Linked DNA regions of Homo sapiens: region 2 is linked to region 1. Evidence: promoter capture Hi-C in 16 types of primary human blood cells and fetal thymus (Javierre and others, 2016). All regions are on one chromosome and are shown on one strand. Each heading gives the region's core, a stretch centred on a gene start or on the middle of the fragment in contact. The rest is flanking DNA. Distances are from core to core; before and after follow the strand shown.

The links. Contacts are between HindIII fragments. The CHiCAGO score rates a contact against its expected background, and 5 or more counts as called.
Region 2: a contact is called between a fragment that was not itself captured here and the fragment with the promoter of DIAPH1-AS1 in region 1, in 1 of 17 cell types (fetal thymus). The highest score is 5.1, in fetal thymus.

What each region holds. Positions count from the first base shown.
Region 1 is chr5:141,555,713-141,561,242 of GRCh38, reverse strand. DIAPH1-AS1 (DIAPH1 antisense RNA 1) reads right to left here and starts at 2,932. Exons shown (of 3, transcript NR_038333.1): 1 at 2,756-2,932. All of the region lies in intron 18 of DIAPH1 (diaphanous related formin 1), which reads left to right. RefSeq lists enhancers at 3,047-3,341, 3,102-3,954. The HindIII fragment of the contact is 6,603 bases long and covers 1-4,846 here.
Region 2 is chr5:141,304,319-141,309,848 of GRCh38, reverse strand. No RefSeq gene overlaps it. Among named protein-coding and RNA genes, the nearest start is that of SLC25A2, 3.0 kb to the right of the region's middle. The HindIII fragment of the contact is 5,316 bases long and covers 1-5,312 here.

The sequences.
Region 1 (5,530 bases), core at 1,683-4,182:
AACCCCAACTCTTCTTAGAGCCAGTGATTTCTTCTTTTAGATCTATTAGATGGGAAGATACGGCACTCTCCTGTGTGTGTGTTTGCATTTCTTTTAGCAAGAAAAACTGCAAAAATCCTTCCCAAGAATTTCCCGTTTTTCCTATTCTGCTTGCATTTTTCTTTTCGGCCACGGGGTGCGCGCAGTTGAGCTATTTTGGCTCAGGTTCCAGATTGTGAGGTCAGAGACTAGGGATTGGAGGAGAAGATCAGGTGACTTTCAGTAACAGAGATGGCGGTCCTCCCATCTCCACCCCTTCCCCCCCTCATCTTTCCCCACCCTTTCCTGGCTTCCACCTCAGGAACAAAGAAGGGAAAAAAACAGCAGTATGACGAAAACCAGCAGCTGTCTCTGCAGGCTCAGGCTGGGGGCTGGGAGTTTATTCCATCTGTTCTCTTTGTTCTGCTCTTACCCTGTTACTTCCCTTCCCAACCCTGAATAAAACAGAATATTTCTAGAATCCTTTGTTATGGAGAATGGTTTAGAATTCTGCAGTTTACTCAGTATTTATTTAGGTTAGCGTGGGTGAGATACAGCAGAGATTAAAACTGATCTGGAGCACCTAAAAAAAAGATGAAGGTACTTTGCCTTCTCATTCAGTCTTAAATTATGAATACCTATTTAATGTCAGATTTGTGACAGGGGATTATCAACTATTATTTCCAATTATCAAAACATTATTTCCATAATGCCTAATTGGTATTATCTTTGTTTTATAATTGAGAGATATAAAAGAGAATTAATATGTCCTTTGCTTGTTAAGATTTTATAGCAAGTAAACACCAAGCCAGAATTTGAGCCTAGATATATTGGGCTCAAATCCAGCACTTAGTGAAAGGGAGTGGCAAGAATGCAGGCATGTTGAGAGAAACCTCAGGTGCTTGCTTCCAGTGACTGACAGTGTAAAGTAACTGTGCTAGTGCTTCTTGATTTTTACCAGTGATTAGTGTCCTGATTTCTTCAACAAATAAATTTCAGGGGAAAAAATGAGATGGAGAGGAACATATAGATTAAGAGGGAATTTTAAATTTTATCAACCAGTACAGTATATGGAACTTATTTAGATCTTGATCCAAATGAACTATACAAAACACTTGACAGTTGAGACAGCTGGAAATTAGTGTGATAATGGTTTCATGGCATTTTTTAAAAAGTCATCATCTTTTAGAGATGTGTACAGAAATAATTGCGGATCATTATGGGATTTAGAAGTGGGGTGTAGATGAAACAGAATTGGTCACGAGTGGATAACTGTTGAAACTGAGTGATGTATGCATGGGGATTAATAATTGTGTTTTTGAATGTTTAATTTTTCCCATAATAAAACATTTTTTAATCCAGGAAAAGAGTTTTATTTCTAGTACCTTATTTTAATGCCTTTTCTTCTGCCCTCTAGCCTATTGTTTCCTTGCATAAACCTGTCCTCTTTGCTGACATACCTGAGTCCTTGTTTGGGATAGTGCCTGTCCTTCCAGTCCTTCCCCACCCACATCCTAGAAGCAGACCTCTTTTTAGCACTCCCTAATTGAGTCACCATCCTGGGTGTGCTGGGAAAGTATCTGTGGGAAACTCAATGACTATATTATCTGAAAGACCAAATGCTTGGTGAAGTGCCCAGATTTTTAATACTGCTTTTCTGCTACCCTTCCAGACTTATATCTGTCCCCTTCTTTATAACTCTCAGCATCTGGTTCTTCCTTTGGGATTCTGTGTGGCTTTGTTCTTGTCCTTTAGGTTTGTTCATTAATGCCAGTTTGCCCTGTCCCTCCTTACAGCTTGCACATCTGTAATGGTCTAGTTCTGTGGGATTTTGCAGATAGTTGTATATTTTGGCCAAGGTATCAGTGATACGGTTACCTTTGGGCAGGGATAACTGCTATTCGGTTGGCATGATATTTTTTCCTTCTATAATGTATACCTTAGTGATTGTTTTAAAGTGCTGAATTTATCCCTTATGTATATTACAACCATGAAGAATATAAATCAGAAGTCCTCCATTTGGGCAGCTTCTTATATTAACACTTATATTAACATTAAGACCCTCTTACTGTCTCCTCTTCCCAGAATTAGAGAGTTGATGTAGTGCTTAATAGACATGGCTTATTGTATGCTAGGTGAACTTGGCAATTCCATAGCTATGTTACCCTCACAGAAAGTTATTTCCTGGAGAGATTATTAAGTGTTCTGATCTTTCATATATGCCTGAGAGATCTAAGATTCTTCCACAAAGACCCTATTTCTTCAGAGAAAACTATAGTGATGCCAGAGTCTTTTTTTTTTTTTTTTTAACAACTTGTGATTTTTGTGCACCTGTGTTGTATGTGTTGCCATTATCTCACTTTAGGGACGTTGGATAAACTGGCGTATTTGTGCAGCCTCATTTAAGTAGTGGCAACCATTAATGACTTGTACCCACAAGTTTTTCCAGATAATTTCTGTTTTTTCCACCTTTCTTACATGTTCTTTTTTAGTCATAGGTACTTGGCTTACTCAAGGGAGGTGTAGCGTAAGATAAAGATAATGGAGGGTGTTCCCTGTAGAATAGGTACAAATGCTGCAGGCTTTATCTTGGGCAGAGCAAGTAGGGTTTTGGTCCTGAGTAAGTGAGTGAGGTTAGGTGGAGCTGCCTGTCTTCCAGCCGTGCGGATACAACTGACTCAGTCCGTGTTCTCAACAGTTTTTGAAAAGCCCATTTTTCTATCCCACTTACTCCCACCTGCAGTTCTTTAAGAACGTAGTTTCCAGGATGTCAGGCAACTCCCCACTCCTCCATTTCCTGTTTGTGGTCTTCATTGAGAGACGCCTTAAACAGGAATTCCTGGGGAAGTGCAGGCTATAGCGGTGGGATTCCGGGGGTCATTAGTCCATTATTGAAGCTGGGGAATCATGTACTATAAAAGGACCTCCCTTCCGTTCTGTTGTCTCCTAGAAACTATTACTGATCATAACCAAGCAGTAACTGCAACTCAGGGCTGTTGACTTGTGCCCTTTGTCTTTAGAGACTGAAAATTATTTTCCCTTCTTGTGCCTCAGTTTCTATTAGTTGAATTTTAGAGCTCAACATCAAGATTTGTGACAAAATTAACTTGGACTCTGTAGGACTGATTCGTTTGAAATGCAAAAGTAGTGAAGAACATAAAACAGACTCCCTATCTTGGCCGCCAGGGGGTGCCCTTTCCCTTCGCTTTACTGTCTGGCACTCCCCACCGCATTCAGCCATTTTAGACAGATTGTTTTTGCTCCCAGCTAACTCCATTTTGTATTTGTGACGCAGGAATAAAAAAAGGAGTTAGGCAAAGGAGGAGTCTGGTTTGCAGAGGGAGGGAGACTGGCTGAGGCGCAGCTACGTACTCTTTTACTCAGCAGTTGCTCATCAGGGACACACCTTGCTGCAGGCTGCCTGCATCCTGAGCAATCGATGCCGCAAGTCCTTGCCAGCGGAGCACAGAGCAAAATGGTTTGGCTGCCGGACACCTACTAACAGTGACAGAGTGCTAGCTTTTGAGGCAGCAGGCCAGGGCATCCCCTCTGCCTCATCTAGACTCTAATCCTGGGTTTAGGTGTTTTTGCTACAGAGATGTTTAGGGCAGTTTTCTTAATTATAGGATCAGATAAGAAAAGATACCCCCAAAAAAAGAAGAAAAAAAGGAACCCCTTTCACTTAGCTGTCTGGGAAGAATCAAATGCCCCAAGGACTCTAGGGAAATGGTCCTGAATTTTTTTAAAAAATGTTATTTTTGAAACCGTGAAAAAAATGCACGCACACATACACACATATATGTAAAGAGACTAGTATGAACACCCCTATGTCCATCACCCATTTAAAAAACTTAATCAACAGCTAGTCTTGTTTCATATACCTGTATCAACTTTGTCTTTGCCACCCATTATTTTTACATGTATCCTTGTTCATATTATTTAATCCTTAAGCAGTTCAGAATGTGTGTCAAAAAAATTAGGACTTTTAAAAGAAGATAATTACTACCATTATCACATTTAAAAAATTCTTTATCATCAGATAGCCAGTTAGTATTAAATTTCCCAAATTATCTTATGATAGTTGTTTTTTTTAATAGTTCATTTGAATCAGAGCCAAATAAAGTCTACACATTGCAGTTGGTTGATGTCTCTATAGGTTCTCTCTTATGCTCTTTTTTATTTTTTATTTTGCAATTTATTTATAGACTTAATTTCTTTTAAAAAGATCTCTGCCAGGCGCGGTGACTCACGCCTGTAATCCCAGCACTTTGGGAGGCCGAGGCGGGCGGATCACGTGAGGTTGGGAGTTTGAGACCAGCCTGGCCAATATGGCGAAACCTCGTCTCTACTAAAAATACAAAAATTAGCCGGGCCGCCTGGTGGCGCATGCCTGTAATTCCAGCTACTCGGGAGGCTGAGGCAGGAGAATTGCTTGAACCCGGGAGGCGGAGGTTGTGGTGAGCCAAGATTGCACCACTGCACTCAAGCCTGGGTGACAGAGTGAGACTCCATTTCAAAAAATAAATAAATAAATAAATAAAAAGAAGATCTCTCAGGTTGGGACTGAGAAGATACAAAGCCAGACTTCCCTTCTTGCCAGAGCAGAGCCTCTTCTTTAGGATTTCCCACAGAGGCTATTGGTGACCAAGTGAAGGAGCAATGCCCTGCCACCTTCAGAGGGAGAAAGGGCTGGACTCTTACTTTTCTCCTGACGTGATAATCTGTTACCCAAAGTCTTGAGAAAAGTTTGCACACTGCCGTCAACGGAGAACATGGTCATAGAAGTGGGCCTCACCCGTTCTAAGAATTAAAGGAGAGCTTTTAAGCTTTGGGACAACTGTGTTTGGCCACTGTGTAATAGCTGCATCCCTATGGTGATTCTAGAGTATCAGCTTTTTTTTTCCCGAATACTTTTTTTACTTAAGTAGCAGCTTTCTCCCTGGTAAGACTCAATGAATTAACAGCACTTCATGGACTTTTACAGAAAGAAAAAATATAATACTGTGTTGGGGCCGGGGGGGATGTGGTGAAAAGTCCTTTATGGCTTCAGGATTATAATATCGCTAGTCCTTCCCTTGACCTTTTTGGAGATACTCCCTGAGACTGACTTAGATGCAAATGATCAGATGAAAGTTCTTGCTTAATATTCTTCTCCCACTTCTGAAATGGGTCAGTGACTCTGACTTTCAGCAGCCACAGCAAGCAGTCTATTCCCTTGCCCAAGGGAAGGGCACAGGTGATAGAAGGGAATTAGCAGGGTCTGGCTTCTTGGCAAGGCTGGCAGGACACTCGTAGAGTCTGGTCTGTGGAGACTAGATTGGCCCCATGTCTAGTTTGGAAACTATAGTTCCCACTAGCAAAAGGTTTAGAATCTGCTGAATAGGTCAGGATTGCAGCAGCTAGAAATACGGATCCTGGCACGGCCACTTTTTAACCACATAGCTAGGTGTAAGGGTCTCTCTTTTCTACTATTGTTTGTTGAGAGTCACAGCCTTTGCAGAAAAAATTTTCC
Region 2 (5,530 bases), core at 1,405-3,904, 250 kb after region 1:
TAAAAACCCTGGGTTCAGCGAGCTATCTGATAGCTAAACACATGGAGGTTCTTGGAGGATGGAGCCCTGGGGAAGGCATGGAATTTCTGTGCTTCTTTCCCTATGTCTCACCTTATGCATCGTTTCATCTGTATCCTTTTGTAATATTTTTTATAGTAAACCAGTAAACGTGTTTCCCTGAGTCCTGTGAGCAGCTCTAGTGAATTAAACCCAAAGAGGGGCCGTAGCAACCTCAACATGAAGCTGGTCTGTTAGAAGTTCTGGAGCCCCGGACTTAACGACTAGTGTCTGAGGTGGGAGTGGGGTGGGGTGCAGTCTTGGATACTGAGCACTTACCCTGTGGAATCTGATGCTTTCTCCAGGTAGATAGTGTTGGAATTGGATTGGAAAACACCCAGCTGGTGTCTGCTGTAGAACTGATTGCTTGCTTGGTGTGTGGGGAGAAACCCCGACCCATTTGGTCACAGAAGTCTGCTGTGTTTATTGTTGTGGTGTGAGCAGACGCAAAACATCTTGAGTGCATTTTTCCACTCACAGAAACAGTGCTTAAAGACTGGCAATATGTGTGCATCATGAACTGTAGCCCAGTGGGATCCATATATTTTGATTTCATTCTCAGAAAAGGGAAGGGGGGAAAAAGGTTTTGTTTTGTCTTGCTCTGTCACCCAGGCTGGAATGCAGTGAAATGCTTTTTATGGAGGCAAAAATAGCCTAGCATGGCTGTTCATACAGCAAAAGAAGATAAAATAGCAATGTAGAACTTAATCCATTTATTTGCAATGAAAGATAAAATATATAAAATATTTTTTAAATCTCACTCAGATAACACCTTTACAGTAAATAACCTTAATTATATGTTTTAGGCTCTCTCCATAATGAAATAGTAATGCAGACTATATGCCATGTCACTAGACTTGGAATGCCTTGGACTTGCTTATATTTATTACACATATAATGGGCTCCCTTTGTCTTAAGGTCTACATCTAATGGCTAAACCATTTCCAAATATCTGTTTCATTTGCCATTCAGTGTTTATTTTTAGACTACAGGATGCTTCGAAGGCAAATTTCTAATTTATATTAGGTGACCTTGCAAAATCTACATAATATGTTATTATTTAAATAATTTCTGGGCTGAGCACAGTGCCTTATTCCTGTAATCCCAGCACTTTGGGAGGCTGAGATGGGAGGATCACTTAAGCCCAGGAATTTGAGACCAGCCTGGGCAACATAGTGAGATTCTGTCTCTACAAAAAATTTAAAAATTAGCTGGGTGTGATGGTGCACACCTCTGGCCCAGCTACATGGGAGGCTAAAGTGGAAGGATTGCTTCAGCCTGAGAGGTTGAGGTTACAGTGAGCCATGATTGTGCCACTGCATTCTGGCCTGGGCAGCAGAGCAAGACAAACCAAAACAAAACCCTTTTCCCCCGTTCCCTTTCCTGAAAGTGAAATCAAAACATAGAAAAAAATTCCTCAAATATGACATGAAGGATTTAAAAATCCTAATGAAGTTTTCTATTTTCAAATTGCAGATTGTTCTCATCCTTTCTGCTTTACCTAAGAGGCTGCTAAATAAAACAACAGAAAGGATTTTTAAAAGATGTTAACTTCTAAGGACAAAGAGAATAGGAAATGAGACAACAGTGGATGAGAGATGTCAACCCATTATCTGAAGGCCAAAACAGAGAAATGATAAATGAATTCATAGATCAGAAAAAGTTACATGCTAAATGTCTGCAAGTAGTTATACCAAAGAGAGACAAACCCACTTGACAGAGCCTTGTAAGATGCAAAATTTTTGCAAGCAGAAGATTCCAGGGAAGGTGGGAAGGTGTAGGGTTAGAGATGTGAGATTCATTAAAGTCTGTGTTCAGAGTTGTTGGGTGTCCAGGATCTCTATCCCACTCTATGAAGCCAGATAACTCTTTCCATCCCACAGAAGATGGAAATTTTATTTTCTGGATAAATTGAACCAAAGAAGGCCCAAACTCAGAGAAAGTAGGCACAGTGTCAAATAAGGAAAAAATTATGTGAAAGTCTGTATATTTACTCCAGGTGTGTCATCCCTCTTCCCCTCTCTTGTTCTCTTTAAATCAGTATCTAGGTTTATAACCTACCTCTCCCCCACCACACCCTGCACACACACAGTCAAAGCTCATAGAGCATTCTCTGAGGAAACTATGTGGTACCAGAGAAAAGAACTGCAACTGCTGACATTTGGGCATTTCCCAAAGAAAAGCCCAGATTACTATTTACTACAGTGAAGACTACCTGGTGACAAATTATCCATGCACAATTTGCTTTTTAGTACCTCATTAAAAAATTTTTTTTTAAATTTTCTCAGAGACCTTTGTTCTGAAGTACCTCACTTTTAATTGACAGCCAAGGATAATTAGACAAGGAAAGTTTTCTAAATGAAAGAGAATGCTTTCAGCATACTTTCTTCCCCCCAGATTTTGTTTTTACTACCCATGGCCGACGACGGCTTGGAATGTAAGCCTGGAGAGAATTCATTCCAATGCTGGGATTATAAATATCTGGGAGGAAGAAGTGTGTCCTGACAGTGGTATCCTCACTAATGTCCAAAAAACATCTTGCTTTGAAAGCTAGACATGTCATTTGTATCCCGAACTTCTACTTCTTTTTAAATTGAATTTCATTTTAGATTCAAGGAGTACATGTGCAGGTGTGTTACATGGGTATGTTGTGTAACGCTGAGGTTTGGGCTTCTAGTGAACCCGTCACCCACATAGTGAATGTAGTACCCAACAGGTAGGTTTTCAACCCTCAATCCCTCCCACCCTCCCCACTTTTGGATTCCCCAGTGTCTGTTATTCCCATCTTTATGTCTTTGTGTACCCATTGTTTAGCTCCCACTTATATAAGTGAGAACATGCAGTATTTGATTTTCTGGTTCTAAGATATTTCACCTAGAATAACAGCCCCCAGCTCCATCCATGTTGTGAGGGACATAATTTCATTCTTTTTTATGGCTGCATAGTATTCCGTGGTATACATATACCACATTTTCTTTATCCAATCAACTATTGATGAACACTTACATTGATTCTGTGACTTTCCTGTTGTGAATAGTGCTTCCATAAACATATGAGTGTAGATGTTTTCTGGTTTTTTTTTTGGAGACAGGGTCTTGTTTTGCCACCCAGGCTGGATCATAACTCACTGCAGCCTCCAACTCAGCTCAGTCAATCCTCCCATCTCCGCCTCCTGTGTAGCTGCCACTACAGGGGCATGCCATCATGCATGGCTACTTTTTGTATTTTTTTGTAGAGATGGCATTTTGCCATGTTGTCCAGGCTGGTCTGGAGCTCCTGGGCTCAAGCGATCTACCTGGCTTGGGCTCCCAAAATTCTGGGATTACAGGTGTAAGTCACTGTCCCCAGCACAGGTGTCTTTTTGATAAAATGATTTCTTTTCCTTTGGGTAGATACCTAATAGTGGGATTGCTGGGTTGAATGGGTGTTCTATTTTTAGTTCTTTGAGAAATCTCCATACTGCTTTCCATAGGGGTTGAACTATTTTACATTCCCACCAACAGTGTACAAACGACAAATTTCTACTTCTGCATGAGGCTGTGTGGGTCCTCAAAGAGAATCTCAAAACTTAGAAAGCATAGTGCTGAGCCACCCAGCTCTTTTCTATCAAGTTTCTTAGCAATGCAGTATATAAATACTATCCATTTTCCAAGTTGATTTTATAGTGCCGTGTTCTATCTTCAGAAATGATAAGGACTCCACGTTCCACCAGTTCCCAGGGCTGCAACCCCAGATCCTTGGGGATGTTGCCATGTGATAGCATTTCTCCAGCTCTGCAGGAAAGCAGTAGCACATCTCCAGGGCTAAGGATTCCCACAGTGCCCTACTCCCCTCCTTGCCCCCCAGGAAAGTGAGGAGCGTGGGCAGATCGCTGAGGGTTTTCTGATCAAAAGCAGTCACTGTCTCTCATGTAGCAACCCTCAGATCGTTTCGTTACCGGACAGGGGTCCCGATCCAGACCCAAGAGATTGTTCTTGGATCTCATGCAAGAAATAATTTGGGGCAAGTTCATAGAGTCAAGTGAAAGCAAGTTTATTAGAGAAGTAAAGAAGCAAAAGAATGGCTACTCCATAGGCACAGCAGTGGCCTGGGCGGCTTGACTAAGGATACTTACAGTTTTTTATTGAATGTAAGCTAAACAAGGGGTGGATTATTCATGAGGTTTCTGGGAAAGGGGTCCAAAGTTACCGGAACTGAGGATTCCTCCCCCTTTTTAGACCACATAGGGTCACTTCTTATTGTTGCCATGGCATCTGTAAGTGGACACGGCGCTGGTGGGCGTGTCTTTTAGCATGCTAATGCATTATAATTGGCGTATAATGAGCAGTAAGGACGACCAGAGGTCACTTATTATGCCATCTTGATTCTGGTGGGATTTGGCTGGCTTCTTTACTGAAACCTGTTTTATCAGCAAGGTCTTTGTGACCCGTATCTTGTGCCGGCCTCCTATCTCATCCTGTGACTTAGAATGCCTGTCTTCCTGGGAATGCAGTCCAGTAGGTCTCGGCCTTATTTTACTCAGTCCCTAGTCAAGATGGAGTTGCTGTGGTTCCAGCGCCTCTGACAGTTTGTCTTCTCTACTTTATTTTTTGTAGGGGGTAAGGGGTGTCTCATTTTGCTGCCCAAGCTAGCCTTGAACTCCTAGGCTCAAATGAGCCTCCCTCCGCAGCCTCTCCAAGTGTTGGGATTACAGGCATGAGCCACCACACCTGGCCTGTCTTATCTACTTTAAAGCAGTTTTCTTGTAGATTGACCCTCTGAATTCAGGGTCTATTCAAGTGAGGGCATCTTCTTTTCGGGTTGTTTGTTTTTGTTTTTTGCATGGTAAGAAGCGTGGGATAGGCCGGGTGTGGTGGTTCATGCTTGTAAGCCCCAACACTTTGGGAGGCCAGTGGGTGGATTGCTTGAGTTCAGGAGTTCGAGACTAGCCTGGGCAACATGGCGAAACCCCGTCTGTACAATACAAAATTTAGCCAGATGTGGTGGCTTGCGCCTGTAGTCCCTCTAGTCTCAGCTACTCAGGAGGCTGAGGTGAGAGGATCGCCTGAGGCCAGGAGATTGGGGCTGCAGTGAGCCAGGATCGCGCCACTGAACTCCAGCTTAGGCGGCCGAGTGAGACCCTAAGTCAAAAAAAAAAAAAAGAGAGAAAAGAAAAGAAGCAGGGCTGACTGATTAGGACAGCATTTCTTTTGCCGCCAGCTGAACTGCGGCGTCTAGAGTTCCCGGCCATAATTGCAAGAATTTATCGAAAAGCTTTACATGTTTTCTTGGTTTTGGTTTTGTTTTGAGACAGAGCCTCACCCTTTCGCCCACCCTGGAGTGCAGTGTGCGATCATAGCTCACTGCAGCATCGACCTCCCGGGTTCAAGCGATCCTCGCTTCATTCTCCTGAATTGCTGGGACCACAGGCGCGCGCCATCGCGCCCGGGTATTTTTTCGTTTTTGTAGAAATGGAGTCTTGCCATATTGCCCA